Linked DNA regions of Homo sapiens: region 2 is linked to region 1. The links are contacts of gene promoters, found by promoter capture Hi-C in blood cells and fetal thymus (Javierre and others, 2016). All regions are on one chromosome and are shown on one strand. Each heading gives the region's core, a stretch centred on a gene start or on the middle of the fragment in contact. The rest is flanking DNA. Distances are from core to core; before and after follow the strand shown.

Region 1 (7,056 bases), core at 1,961-4,460:
GAATGTGGAGGAATTGGGTGGGGCGTGATGGCTTATGCCTGTAATCCCAGCACTTTCGGAGGCCGAGGTGGGCGGACCACCTGAGGTCAGGAGTTTGAGACCAGCTTGGTCACCATGGTGAAACCCTGTCTCTACTAAAAATACAAAAGTTAGCCAGGCATGGTGGCGTGCACCTGTAATCCCAGCTACTCAGGAAGCTGAGGCAGGAGAATCACTTGAACCTGAGAGGCAGAGGTTGAAGTGAGCTGAGATCACGCCACTTCACTCCAGCCTGGGCGACAAGAGTGAAACTCCGTCTAAAAAAAAAAAAAAGAATGTGGAGAAACTGGAACCCTTGTGCACTGTTGGTGGGAATGTAAAATGGTGCAACCACTGTGGAAAACGGTATGGTTGTTCCTCAAAAACTTAAACATAGAATTATCCATATGATCCAGGAGTTCCACCTCTGGGTATATTCACAAAGAATTGAAAGCAGAGACTTGAAAAGCTATTTGAACACCCATGTTCATAGCAGCATTATTCACAATACCCAAAAGGTGATGGCAACCCAAGTGTCCATCGACAGATGAACGAATAAAGAAAATGTGGTACACACACCACACAGCCTTAAAAGGAATGAAGTTCTGATACATGCTACAACATGGATGAATCTTGAAAGTAAACTCAGTTAAGTGAAATAAACTAATAACAAAAAAAAAAAAATACCGTGTAATTCCACGTATATGAGGCGCCTAAAGCAGTCAAATTCATAGAGATGGAAAGTAAAATGGTGGTTGCCAGGGGCCGCTGGGGAGAGGGGAGTGAGGAGTTATTGTTTTGTAGGTACAAAATTTCTGTTCTGCAAAACGAGAAGAGTTCTGGAGATGGATGGTGGTGATGGTTGCCCAACAATGTGAATGTCCTTAATGCCACTGAACTGTACACTTAAAAATGGTTAAAATGGTAATTTTTATATTATGTATATCTTACCACATTTAATAATAACAATTTAAAGATATATCAAAAGAGGCAAATGTGCAGACATCTATCGAATAAATAAGTTATCAAAAACAGCAAAAAGGGACAGATAATAATAATAAAAAAAGATAGTTTCTGTTTTTGAGGAGCCCACGAAAGCCACACATCACTGAGAAAGCCGAGGAGAGCTGGGGCTTTCTCAGGGGTAGCCCTGGTGCAGCTCCCTTGCCTCGTCTAGTCCTGCTTTAGATGCTCGCTACTCGGGTGAGGGCTGCAGATCCTTGTGGAAAGAGACAGAAAAAGAGGAAGAGAGCTTGAATTGGAGGCCGTGCCTCTCAGCGTGGCCTCCCGATCCTTGAATCGGAGGCCGTGCCTCTCAGCCTGGCCTCCTGATCCTTGAATCGGAGGCCGTGCCTCTCAGCGTGGCCTCCCGATCCTTGAATCGGAGGCCGTGCCTCTCATCGTGGCCTCCCGACCTAGCCTGGTGGAGAGCGCCCCCTGCCGGTAGATCCTGGCCCGGCACACTGAGAGCGGCAGGCCCCGCCGGAGGGGCCAGCGCAGGACCGGGGAGAATGGAGCTCAGCCAGTGCCTAGCCCTGGGTTTATTTCCAGTTTCCTGCTGGAGAGCAATGGTCAAACTACACAGTCCGGCGGAGGCGAGTCCGCAGGCTCTGGAAGCCTCTGAGGCACAGACGAGGAAAGCGCCTGAATGTGGATCTGGGGTACAGAAGTTGCCGGTGGCTCTGGCCCTGTTCATGGGACTCAGTCAGCAGAAACTGTGGGTGTGACACACACCGGAGCCTCACCTGCCCTGTGGACTGCCCACACTCTCTCTCAGAGCCTCACCTGCCCTGTGGACTGCCCACGCGCTCTCTCAGATCCCGGCCTGTGCACCTGGCCCTTCCCCAGCCTCCCAGGCAGAGGGTGCCACGGGGCTGAGGGCAGGCAACAAAGCCACTGGCCTCTGGCTCAGCACCCAGCTGCAGCCCTGTGGATCCTGGCCCACAGCCTCCCCATGACTTCACTGGCATCCAGGGTTTCTCGAAAGCGCTATGAGCCAAGTGGTACCCTTCCCCTCTGATGTGGCTGGGTTGGAGAGGGAGTCCTGGATGCAGCTGGAGGTCCCCTTCTGCTCACGGCTCCCTGGAGGCTGTGTCTGTGCATGCACACCATCACTCCTACTCCAGGAAGGACTTTCACGGATGTCCTCAGCTACCAAAAGTCACTCCAGGGAGTGATAAATTCCGTCCAACCCAAAGTGTGCCACACTCTGCTATGGGGCACTCCTTTGTCTCTGCACCAACTCTGTTGGTTTCTATTATCTTCTCTCCCTCTCTCCTTTTTTTTTTTTTTGAGACAGAGTCTTGCTCTGTTGCCCAGGATGAAGTGCAGTGACATGATCTCAGGTCACTGCAACTTTCACCTCCTGGGATTCAAGTGATTCTCGTGCCTCAGCCTCCCAAGTAGCTGGGATTACAGGTGTGCACCACTATGCCCAACTAGTTTTTGTATTTTTAGTAGAGACGGGGTTTCTTCATGTTTGCCAGGCTGGTCTTGAACTCCTGGCCTCAAGTGTTCTGCCCGCCTCTACCTCCCAAGGTACTGGGATTACAGGTGCGAGCCACTGCACCTGGCTGGTTTCTATTATCTTCTTAGAAAGCCTGTTGGTCCTTTGTGCAGACTCCTTCATTCCCCCAGCCTCGAGCTCTGCCTTCTATTCCAAATGTGTGAATTTATAAGCATTACACAGCTTATTTTTCATATTGGGGAATGGGTGTGAATTAGTATGAAGTCAAGCTGCAAGAGTACCAATACCAGGTCCATCTCTTACTAGTTTTGTGACCTTAGGTGACTTAGCCTCTCTAATTTTCGTTTTGTCTTATCAGTTAAATGGGAATAAGCATAGCACTTACCTTAGAGGACTGATGTGGGAATGAGGCAACATAATAGCTATATTGCTTTTATCACTGTACCTGACAGAGTGAATGTGTAACAAACGTTAACCTTTCTTGTCAGCAAATTTAAAACCTCACAGCATATTCTGCACTCATTACGCCAGTCTGTTGGAGCTGAGTCCATGCCTTTTTCTCTCTGCGTTGGGAAAGCCATGCTAGCTACATGCATTTTTGGTCATGAACCAGTCTTAGATTTAAGTCAATGTAAATTTGGCCTTTGCCGTGTTCTTAATGTCTTCTTTACATACCTAGGAAAAGTGAAGGAGAGGTGAGAAAGACAGAGTGGGGAGGAACCCGTGTCTGTGGGTTTGTGCTAGATGCCAACCTGGCTCTTCACATCCTCTGTCTCATCCAGTCAAGCAGCCACACTGAGTCCCCCAGCATGAGAACAGCTTCCACAGAGCAGGAGATTCTGGGTCTGAAATGAGGAGAGAGCTCCAGTCCCACCAGTGCCCTAGAGCATACCTCAGAATGCTCCTTTCTCCTGGTGGGATCCGTGGAGTCTGCCTGCTCTTCCAAGGATGCCTCAGCCTTTTAAGTAAGGCCTAGGGAGGGGCCCTGAAACTACCAGGACCTGAGGAGAAGCAGGATTCTCAGCGTGATTTCACACCACCCTAAGCCGCCGGGAATACTTGCTGCTCATTATCTCTCTATTGGAGTCTCATGGAACACATTGTGGGAAGTGCTATAGAATTCTAGGGACATAGTGGGCACCAAGTGAATATCAGTTACTTTAATTATTACTAAATTTATCTCCCTAACAGGAATTTACTATCTTACCATAATAAACTCTGCTTACATTCTCATATAGGTGAATACACCTGCCCTAAGTCATCTCTACAGCAAGAGCAGAGGCCACATCTACCTCCAGGGTTATTGCCATTCTCACAAAGGTGAGGATAAGTCACCACAGGGAACATTGCTTCTCTGCAGGCTGTGACACTTTCCAGGGCATATAAAGCCCATGAAGAACTGAGATGTTTGCTGAGAAGAGAGCATACCCACCGAAGACAGTGGAAAATGAAAAAACAACAGGAGTAGAAACTTCCCAATAGTGATGTCAAACTGTATTAGTTACTAATTGCTGTGTAACAGCAAACCTAGCGACCTAAAACAAACAAAAAAATTATTTAACAAAGACAGAGTCGGGAATAAGAAAACTGGCTTGGCTGGAGGGTTCGGCTCAGGGTGTCTGATTAGGTTGTAGGAAAGATGTCAGCCAAGGTTTCAGTCATCTGAAGGCTTGACTGGGACTGAAGGATCTGTTTGTAAGATTGCTCACTCAGACCATTGGCAGGAAACCACAGTTTCTCACCATGTGGGCTTCTATATAGGGGTGCTTGAATATCCTTATTAGATGGCAGCTGGCTTCATCCAGGTGAGTGTTCTAAGAGCAAGGAGGAAACTGCAATGCCTTTTATGACCTGGTCTCAGAAGTGACATGCTGCCATGTTCACCATGTAACATACTCATTAGAAAAAAGTCACTAAGTCCAGTCCATACTCAAGAGAAGGGCAGTTAAACTTCCTCTCTGTATCAGTCTGTTCTCACACTGCTAATAAAGACATACCTGAGACTGAGTAATTTGTAAAGGAAAGAGATTGAATTGACTCACAGTTCCACATGGCTGAGGTGGCATCACAATCATGATGGAAGATGAAGGAAGAGCAAAGTCACATCTTACATGGCAGGAGGGAAGAGAGCTTGTGTAGGGGAATGCCCCTTTATAAAACCATCAGGTCTCATGAGACTTATTCACTAGAATGAGAATAGCACAGGAAAGACCTGCCCTGATGATTCAGTTACCTCCCACTGGGTCCCTTCCATGACATATGGGAATTATGGGAGCAACAACTCAAGATGAGCTTTGGGTGGGGACACAGCCAAACTATATCATTCCACCCCTGGCTCCTCGCAAATCACATGTCCTCACATTTCAAAACCAATCATGCCTTCCCAACAGTCCCCCAGGGTCTTAACGCATTTCAGCATTAACTCAAAATTCCACAGTCCAAAGTCTCATCTGAGACAAGGCAAGTCTCTTCTGCCTATGAGCTGTAAAATCAAAAGCAAGTTAGTTACTTCCTAAATACAATAGGAGTACAGGCATTTGGTAAGTACAGCTATTCCAAATGGGAGAAATTGGCCAAAACAAAGGGGCTACAGGCCCCATGCAAGTTCAAAATCCAGCGGGGCAGTCAAATCTTAACGCTTCAAAATTACCTCCTTTGAGTCTCTGTCTCACATCCAGGTCATGCTTATGCAAGAGGTGGGTTCCCATAGTCTTTGGAAGCTCCACTCCTGTGACTTTGCAGGGTACAACCCTCCTCCTGGCTGCTTTCATGGGCTGACACTGTCTGTGGCTTTTCCAGGCACACAGCATAAGCTGTTGGTGGATCTACCATTCTGGGATCTGGAGGACAGTGGCCCTCTTCTCACAGTTCCACTAGACAATGCCCCAGTGGGGACATTGTGTGGGGGCTCCCACCCCACATTTCCCTTCTGCACTGCCCTAGCAGAGGTTCTCCATGAGGGCTATGCCCATGCAGCACACCTCTGCTTGGACATTTAGACATTTCCAAACATCCTATGAAATCTAGGCGGAGGCTCCCAAACCTCAGTTCTTCACTTTTGTGCACCCACAGGCTCAACACCACATGGAAGCTGCCAAGGGTTGGGATTTACACCCTCTAAAGCCATGACCCAAGCTGTACCTTTGCCCTCTTTAGCCAAAGCTGGAGTGGCTGGGATGCAAGTCATCCCAAGTCCTGAGACTACACAAAGCTGCCAGGCCCTGGGTCTGGCCCATGAAACCATTTTTTCCTCCTGGACCTCCAGGTCTGTGATGGGAGGGGCTTCTGTGAAGACCTCTGATATGCCCTGGAGACACTTTCCCCATTTTCTTGGTGAAAAACATTTGGCTCCTCTTTCCTTATGCAAATTTCTGCAGCCAGCTCGAATTTCTCTTCAGAAAATAGGTTTTTCTTATCTCATCTTCATGCTGCATGTTTTCCAAACTTTTATGCTCTGCTTCCCTTTTAAATGTAGGTTCCAATTCCAAACCATATATTTGTGAATACATAAAACTGAATGTTATCAGCACCCAAATCACCTCTTGAATACTTTGCTGCTTAGAAATTTCTTTTGCCAGATGCCCTAAATCATCTCTTTCAAGTTCAAAGTTCCACAGATTTCTAGGTCAGGGGCAAAATGCTGCCAGTCTCTTTGCTAAAGCATAACAAGAGTCACCTTTGCTTCAGTTCCCAACAAGTTCCTCATCTCCATCTGAGACCACCTCAGCCTGGACCTTATTGTCCATATCACTATCAGCATTTTGGTCAAAGCTATTCAGTGAGTCTCCAGGAAGTTGCAAACTTTCCCACATCCTCCTATCTTCTTCTGAGCCCTCCAAACTGTTCCAACCTCTGCCTTTTACCCAGTTCCAAATTGCTGGGTAACAGGCAAAGTGTTAAAGTGCTGAAATGCCAATAGTGATGTCAAGGTGTGTTAGTTACCAATTGTTGTGTAACAAAGTATCAGCAAAGTTAGCAGCTTAAAACAAGAAAAAATTATTATTTAACAAAGGCTGAGAGTCAGGAATGAGAAAACTGGCTTGGCTGGAGGGTTTGGCTCAGGGTGTCTCATTAGGTTACAGGAAAGATGTCAGCCAGGGTTGCAGTCATCTGAAGGCTTGACTGGGGCTAGAGGATCTGCTTCTAAGATTGTGCATTCACAGACTGTTGGCAGGAAAAAATAGTTTCTCACCACGTGGGCCTCTCCATAGGGCTGCTTGAGTGTCCTTATCACATAGTGGCTGGCTTTGTCCAGGTGAGTGATCTAAGAGCTAGGAGGAAATTGCAATGCCTTTTATGATGCTGCCATGTTCATCATGTAACATAGCGCCCCACTCCCAGTATCAATTTACTATATCAGTCTGTTCTCATGCTGCTAATAACAACATAACCAAGACTGTGTAATTTATAAAGGAAAGAGGTTGAATTGACTTAGAGTTCCACATGGCTGGGGAGGCCTCACAATCATGGTGGAAGATGATGAAAGAAGAGCAAAGTCATGTCTTACATAGTGGCAGGCAGGAGAGCTTGTGTGGGGAAATTCCCCTGTATAAAACCATCAGATCTTGTGA
Region 2 (6,354 bases), core at 3,210-5,709, 98 kb before region 1:
TATACATATGATGGGTAATGAGCATGTCCATCATCTCTTAAGGAATTCTCATTTCCGTTTGTAATCTCTTCCTGTCTGCAGGCAGCCACTGATCTTCTTTCTGTCACTATAGAAGAGCATGCAATTTATAGAGTTTTATATAAACAGAATCATACAGTATGTACTTTGTTTTGATCTGGTGTCTTTCACTCAATAATAATTTTGAATATCATTCATGTTATCACATGCATAAGTAGTTCTTCTTTTGTATTCTAAGTAGTAGTCTATCATATGGATATATCATGATTTGTTTATTCATTCACTTGTTGATGAAAATTACATGTTTACCCATTAAGTTATCAGTTCTGGATCTTTTTAGTTCCTTGCAGGGATCCAAATATTCACCTTGTATCATTTTCTTTCTGCCTAAAGGACTTCCTTTAACATTTCTTGCAGTGATGAATGCTAGTGATTAATTTTTTCGCTTTTGTATTCCTGAAAATAATTTTTTTATTTCACCTTTGTTTTGAAAGAAATTTTCACTAGGTATAGAATTATGGATTGATAGTTTGTTTCTGTTGCTGCACTTGTTTTTTTTTCTATTTGTAAATCTGCTGTCATACTTATCTTTATTTCTGCGTATATGATGGATATTTTGTTCTGGTTGCTTTTAAGATTTACTCTTTATCACTGATTTTGAACAATTCAATTCTGATGTTCCTTCATGTAGTTTCATCATGTTTCCTGTGCTTGGGTTCTTTGAGCTTCTTGGATCTGTGATTTCATAGTTTGTGTCAAAGTTGTATTGCTGGAGGGCTCAGGAGGGTCTCCGGATGCTGGTGAGTCTCCAGCCCCAGCCAGTGTCCACGTTCTTGACACCATCACGAGAAAGAATTCAGGGACAAGTCAGAGTGAAGTGAAAGGCAGGAAGTTTTTATTGCAAAGCAACAGTAGACACTTAAGGGAGAAGTATTGTCTCTCTTTATTTTGAAGTCCTGGGGTACGTGTGCAGGATGTGCAGGTTTGTTACATAGGTAAATGTGTGCCACAGTGATTTGCTGCACCTGTCAACCCATCACCTAGGTATTAAGCCCAGCATGCATTAGCTATTTTTCCTAATGCTCTCCCTCCCCCACCTCACCCCTGACAGGCCCCAAATGTGTGTTGTTCCCCTCTCTGTGTCCCTGTGTTCTCAGTGTTCAGCTCCCACTTATAAGTGAGAGCATGCAACATTTGGTTTTCTGTTCTTGCATTAGTTTGCTGAGGATCATGGCTTCCAGCTCATCCATGTCCCTTCAAAGGATATGATCCCATTCTTTTTTATGGCTGCATACTATTCCATGGTATATATGTACCACATTTTCTTTATCCGTTATATCATTGATGGACATTTAGGTTGATCCCATGTCTTTGTTATTGTGAGTCTATAAGGAGCTTAAACAAATTTACAAGAAAAAACAAACCCCCATTAAAAAGTGGGCAAAGGACATGAACAGACACTTCTCAAAAGAAGACATTCTTGCAGCCAAAAAACATATGAAAAAAAGCTCAACATCACTGATCATTAGCAAAATGCACATCAAATCCTCAACGAGATACTGTCTCTCATGCTAGTCAGAATGACGATTATTAAAAAGTCAAGAAATAACAGGTGCTGGCGAGGTTGCAGAGAAATAGGAATGCTTTCACACTGTTGGTAGGAATGTGAATTAGTTCAACCATTGTGGAAGACGGTGTGGAAGATCTCGAAGATCTAGAACCAGAAATACCATTTGACCCAGCAATCCTATTGCTGGGTACATACCCCCCAAAATAGAAATCATTCTATTACAAAGATACATGCACCCGTATGTTCATTGCAGCATTATTTGCAATAGAAGTGCTCTCTCTTAAGAGAGAAGGGCATGCTTGTAAGAATGAATCACACACAAGAGAATTTTGGTTTCTAGTTTTATGAGCGTTTCTTTAGTTAGGAAGTGAAATAGTCATAAGGTATTCTGGAAAAGGACAGGATTATAGGGACCTCCGAGTTATCACCCCCTTTCTCCTTTGTTTGGATGTGCGCAAGGGTCATGGACATGTCTCCTGGATCAGCATTTTGGCTGTTTTCTCTCCCTTAGTTTAGGTTTACTGTTATCCTTTGGTTTCTTTGCCTAGTTCCTGTTTTAACTGCTGTTTGGGTCTTTCCAGCCTCCTGTGACTACCCAGTGCTATTCCTATCTCAGTTGGAAATTTAAAAATCATGATTTCTTCAAACATTTTTTCTGCCCCTTATCCTCTGTTTAGAAACAAATAGAGGATAAGAGCTAAGTCTCTAAAGTTATTTTTTCTCTCTGTGTTTTTGTTTAAGATAGTTTATACTGTGCTGTATTCAGGCTCATTTTTTTTTATCTTATGCAATGTGTAATCTACTTTTAATCCCACCTAGTGTATTTTTATCTTAAATATTGTAGTTTTCAACTCTAAAAGTTCATTTTGGATCTTCTTATATCTTCTACATCTCTACTTAATATGTTTAATCTTTCACTTGTTGAACATACGGAGTACTTAGTAAACTGTCCTTTTCTGTTAATTATAGTATCTTTGCAAGTTTGGGTCAGTTCTGAAGTGTTGATTTATCTCCTTTTTATGGGTCATATATATATATGTATTTTTTTGAGATGGAGTTTTGCTCTTGTTGCCCAGGCTGAAGTGCAATGGTGCGATCTTGGCTCACTGCGGTCTCCTTCTCCCAGGTTCAAGCAATTCTCCTGCCTCAACCTCCTGAGTAGCTGGGATTACAGGCGCCCACCACCATGCTGGGCTAATTTTTATATTTTTAGTAGAGATGAGGTCTCACCATGTTGACCAGGCTGGTCTTGAACTCCTGACCTCCGGGTGAGCCACCCACCTTGGCCTCCCAGAGTGCTGGGATTACAGGCATGAGCCAATGTGCCCGGCCTTATAGGTCATATTTTACTGCTTCTTTGATGGCCTAGAAAATTTCAATTGAATGCTAGACATTGTGAATTTTACCTTGTTGGGTGCTAGATATTATTTTTGTGTTTCTAGATATTAATATTTTGTGTTTTTATAACTAGTCGAGCTGTGTGCTGGGATGTGATTAGGTTACTTGAATACAGTTTGATCCTTTCAGATTTTCTTTCAAGATGGGTTAGGCGGGAACAGAACAGCATTTATCCCTCTACTAAGGCAAGACACTGTGTACTCTACCAATGCTCCATGAAATATGAAGTTTTCCCACCTGACTGGTGAAAACTGCTCCTGGCCCTGTGTGAGTACTGGGACTTTCCTGTCTCTCTTTAATGTGCTTATGCTCTTCTCTACCTTCTTTAACATATAAAATAAATTAATCATAACCATTTAATGTCTGCTAATTTTATCATATGTATACTTTCTAGGCCTGTTTCTGTTGATTGCTTTTTCTTTTCATTATGAATAATATTTTCCCGCCAATTTTCAAGGCTGGTAATTTTTTAATGGATGCCAGACATTTTGAATTTAACCTTGCTGGGTTTGATCATATTTTAATATTTATTTAAATGTTCTTGAATTTTTTTCTGGGACACAGTTAAATTACTTGGACACGGTTTCATTCTTTTGAGGCTTCCCTCAAAGCTTTGTTAGGCATGTCCAGACAAAGCGGGCAGGCTTTAGTCTCAGTTAATTTGAACTTATTATTGAGGAAATATTCGTTTGAGTACTCCATATGCGTTACAAGGTTGTTCCACTCTGGCTGGTGGAAACATAAATGATTCCTGTCTTTGGGTGAGCTTTGGACATCATTCCTTCTGTTCTTTTCCACATATTGAGTAATATCCTTACATGTATGCACTGATCGGTACTCAGCTAGTGACGTCAGGGCAATCTTCTGCGGGTCTCTGGAGCTCTCGCTGTCTCTCTGTAAAGCTCTCTTTTTCCCTACAACTGTCTCCTCTCTGATACTCTTGCCTACATATCTGTGTTAGTGTTCCTAAATTTTCAACTTGGTTTTCTCAACTCAGGTGAACGCCAGTCTCTGTTGGGTTCTGCTTCTTTGTGCTGCAGCTATGCCCTTACTATGCCCCTTAGTAAACTGGGGCAATTCTAAGACTCAGCTCATTTCACCGCTTTTCTCAGACACGACTATCTAGTGCTGTCTGTTATCCAATGTGTAACAAACAATGCTTTGTATATTTTGTCTGATTCCTAAGTTGTTTAATGCGGAAGGGTGTATCTGAATCTTGTACTTCATCTTGGCTGGAAGTGGACAGAAGTCAATCTAGCCTTTGACTTTTGCCACCTATGTAAGAGTCCACAAATAATAGCATAGTGTTTAAGAGCATGGGCTCTGGTTACTAATTTGAGTATCATTCCTTTTTATTTATGTAACCTCTCCTTAATCTGTACCATGGAGCTAATAATTATATCTCTTCACATAATTATGACAGGGAGCATTTGAGTCAACTCCTAAAAACATAATTAGCCTAGTGCCAGACCCACAGGAAGTACCCAACACATGTCAGCTTTTATTAATAATTAAGCACTTTTACATGAGTGCTCTGGATATTTTTCAAAAAGCATCTTAATATTTTGGTGGATTTCTGAAATGCCATTACTGGGCCAATGCTTGGCTGTTTTAAATTTTTTTCTAGTCTCTTGTCCTTGGATCTTTCAAATCTGTAGCTATTAATACATGGCAGGCAGCCCTGCACACCTATGGCCACATTTCCACCTGTTCCCTGCAGCCAAGGAGAGGCCACATTAGTGCATCCACTGACTGTGCTCCTGATTAGGAGGGAAGGGGGCAGGTGATCCATGGAAGGACAGGGGCTAGAAAATCAAGTGTGAAACTCAGAGCCTTAAGCGAGTTTGTCAGCTTGGTCAATGGAAGATAATCCTCTGGTGGTTCCCAGCCCAGGCTATACATCAGAGTCACCCAGGAGGCATGCCATTGGACAGCAATCCCATTCTAGGAAAGTCTGATTCAGCTGTAAGAGGCAGAATCCTAGGATCTGTACCCTTTAAGCACCCTAGATGACAGCCAGGTTTGCCTTCTAACAATTCCTCACACCTGGTAGCACCTTGGATCTCTGTCCCCCAAACCCCATCTCAGGATCACCAGGCAAACTTTGAGAAATAGCAGTCCTGAAGCTCCATTCTCAGGGATTCGGGTGAACAAGTGCTATAGGTGATTCTGAAGAGCAGCTTGAGTTGACATCCATTTGTATAGGACAGAGTTTCTCAGGCTTTAACTTGCATCAGAATCACCTGGAGGACCTGTTGAAATAGATTGCAGGGCCCCATTCCCAGAGTTTCTAATTCATACATAGCTCTGGAGGACCTGATAATTTACATTTCAAACAAGCTTCCAGTGATGCTGATGTGCTAGACTGGTGGACGGCACTTTGAGAATGACTGGTTTGGAGTTTCAGAGTTCACAAGGCACTTGTACCTTCATTTTCTCTGTTAACCCTGAAGTCAAGCCTGCAAGGAGCCACAATGAGCCCTGACTTACGGGAGCAAGAGATAGAGGCTTAGGTGAAGTCACTTACCCAAGCTTTTCAGTCCTTCAGCCAAGAACCGTCTCACACTGACTGGGCGTGACAGCATCCTGGTGCAAGGAACTCAGCTTAAGGTGCTAACACTGCAGGTGGCTGTGGATGAACTCGGCCCTGTTACCTGTCACCAGATAATCCAGAAATCTGCTTTCTCCCAGAAACTCAAGCTAGGAAATTCTCCAGATTATCCTATTGGTGAATGTGGCTAAATCCTGGCCACCTTCCCAAGGAGTCTGTACTGCCGCTCCTGGTAGGTTCCACCCAAACCCTCCTGGGCCCCTTGAATCCTCTTCTCTGTCCCAGCCCATACCAGAGGCTCATTCATCCTTCATGCAGTTAATAGGGTGCGTTGGAGCCTCACTCTGTGCACCCTGGTCCAGGAATATCTGCCCTGTTTGCATATCTGGAGCCTTCAATGCAGCCAACACTGGCTCACTCTGAGAGGTGAGAGAATCACTGCTGTGCCCCGGCCCAAGTGGAGGAGGGTGGGGAAGGGAGGGCAGGACCCAGGGAGATTTCATGCAGCGGTGAACATTTAAATTTAATGATCCTCCTCAGTTTTGAAGTCCATTGGCCAGGAGTCTGTGTATTGTTTTTGTAAGTGTGTGTGCTATGTTGTAGGAGGAAGGAATATGACTTTCCTCAGACTTACACTCTTGCTGCTGCTATCTGTCTTTGAAAATGGGGACAAAATTGATTATTTTCTTTATCCTTGTTTGCATCAATCACCCAGGCCATCGTCATCTCTTGCACTGTAATTTTGATATGGCTTTTTGCATCTTCTGCTCCAATTCCATCCACTCCTCTCCACCTCCAGGGGCTCTTTCAGGGTGTC

The links. Contacts are between HindIII fragments. The CHiCAGO score rates a contact against its expected background, and 5 or more counts as called.
Region 2: a fragment that was not itself captured here is called in contact with the fragment with the promoter of IL36B in region 1 in 1 of 17 cell types (M2 macrophages); the score reaches 5.6 in M2 macrophages.

The regions. Positions count from the first base shown.
Region 1 is chr2:113,049,657-113,056,712 of GRCh38, forward strand. IL36B (interleukin 36 beta) reads right to left here and starts at 3,211. Exons shown (of 5, transcript NM_173178.3): 1 at 3,161-3,211. The HindIII fragment of the contact is 9,836 bases long and covers 1-7,056 here.
Region 2 is chr2:112,950,729-112,957,082 of GRCh38, forward strand. No RefSeq gene overlaps it. Among named protein-coding and RNA genes, the nearest start is that of IL36G, 24 kb to the right of the region's middle. The HindIII fragment of the contact is 1,729 bases long and covers 3,596-5,324 here.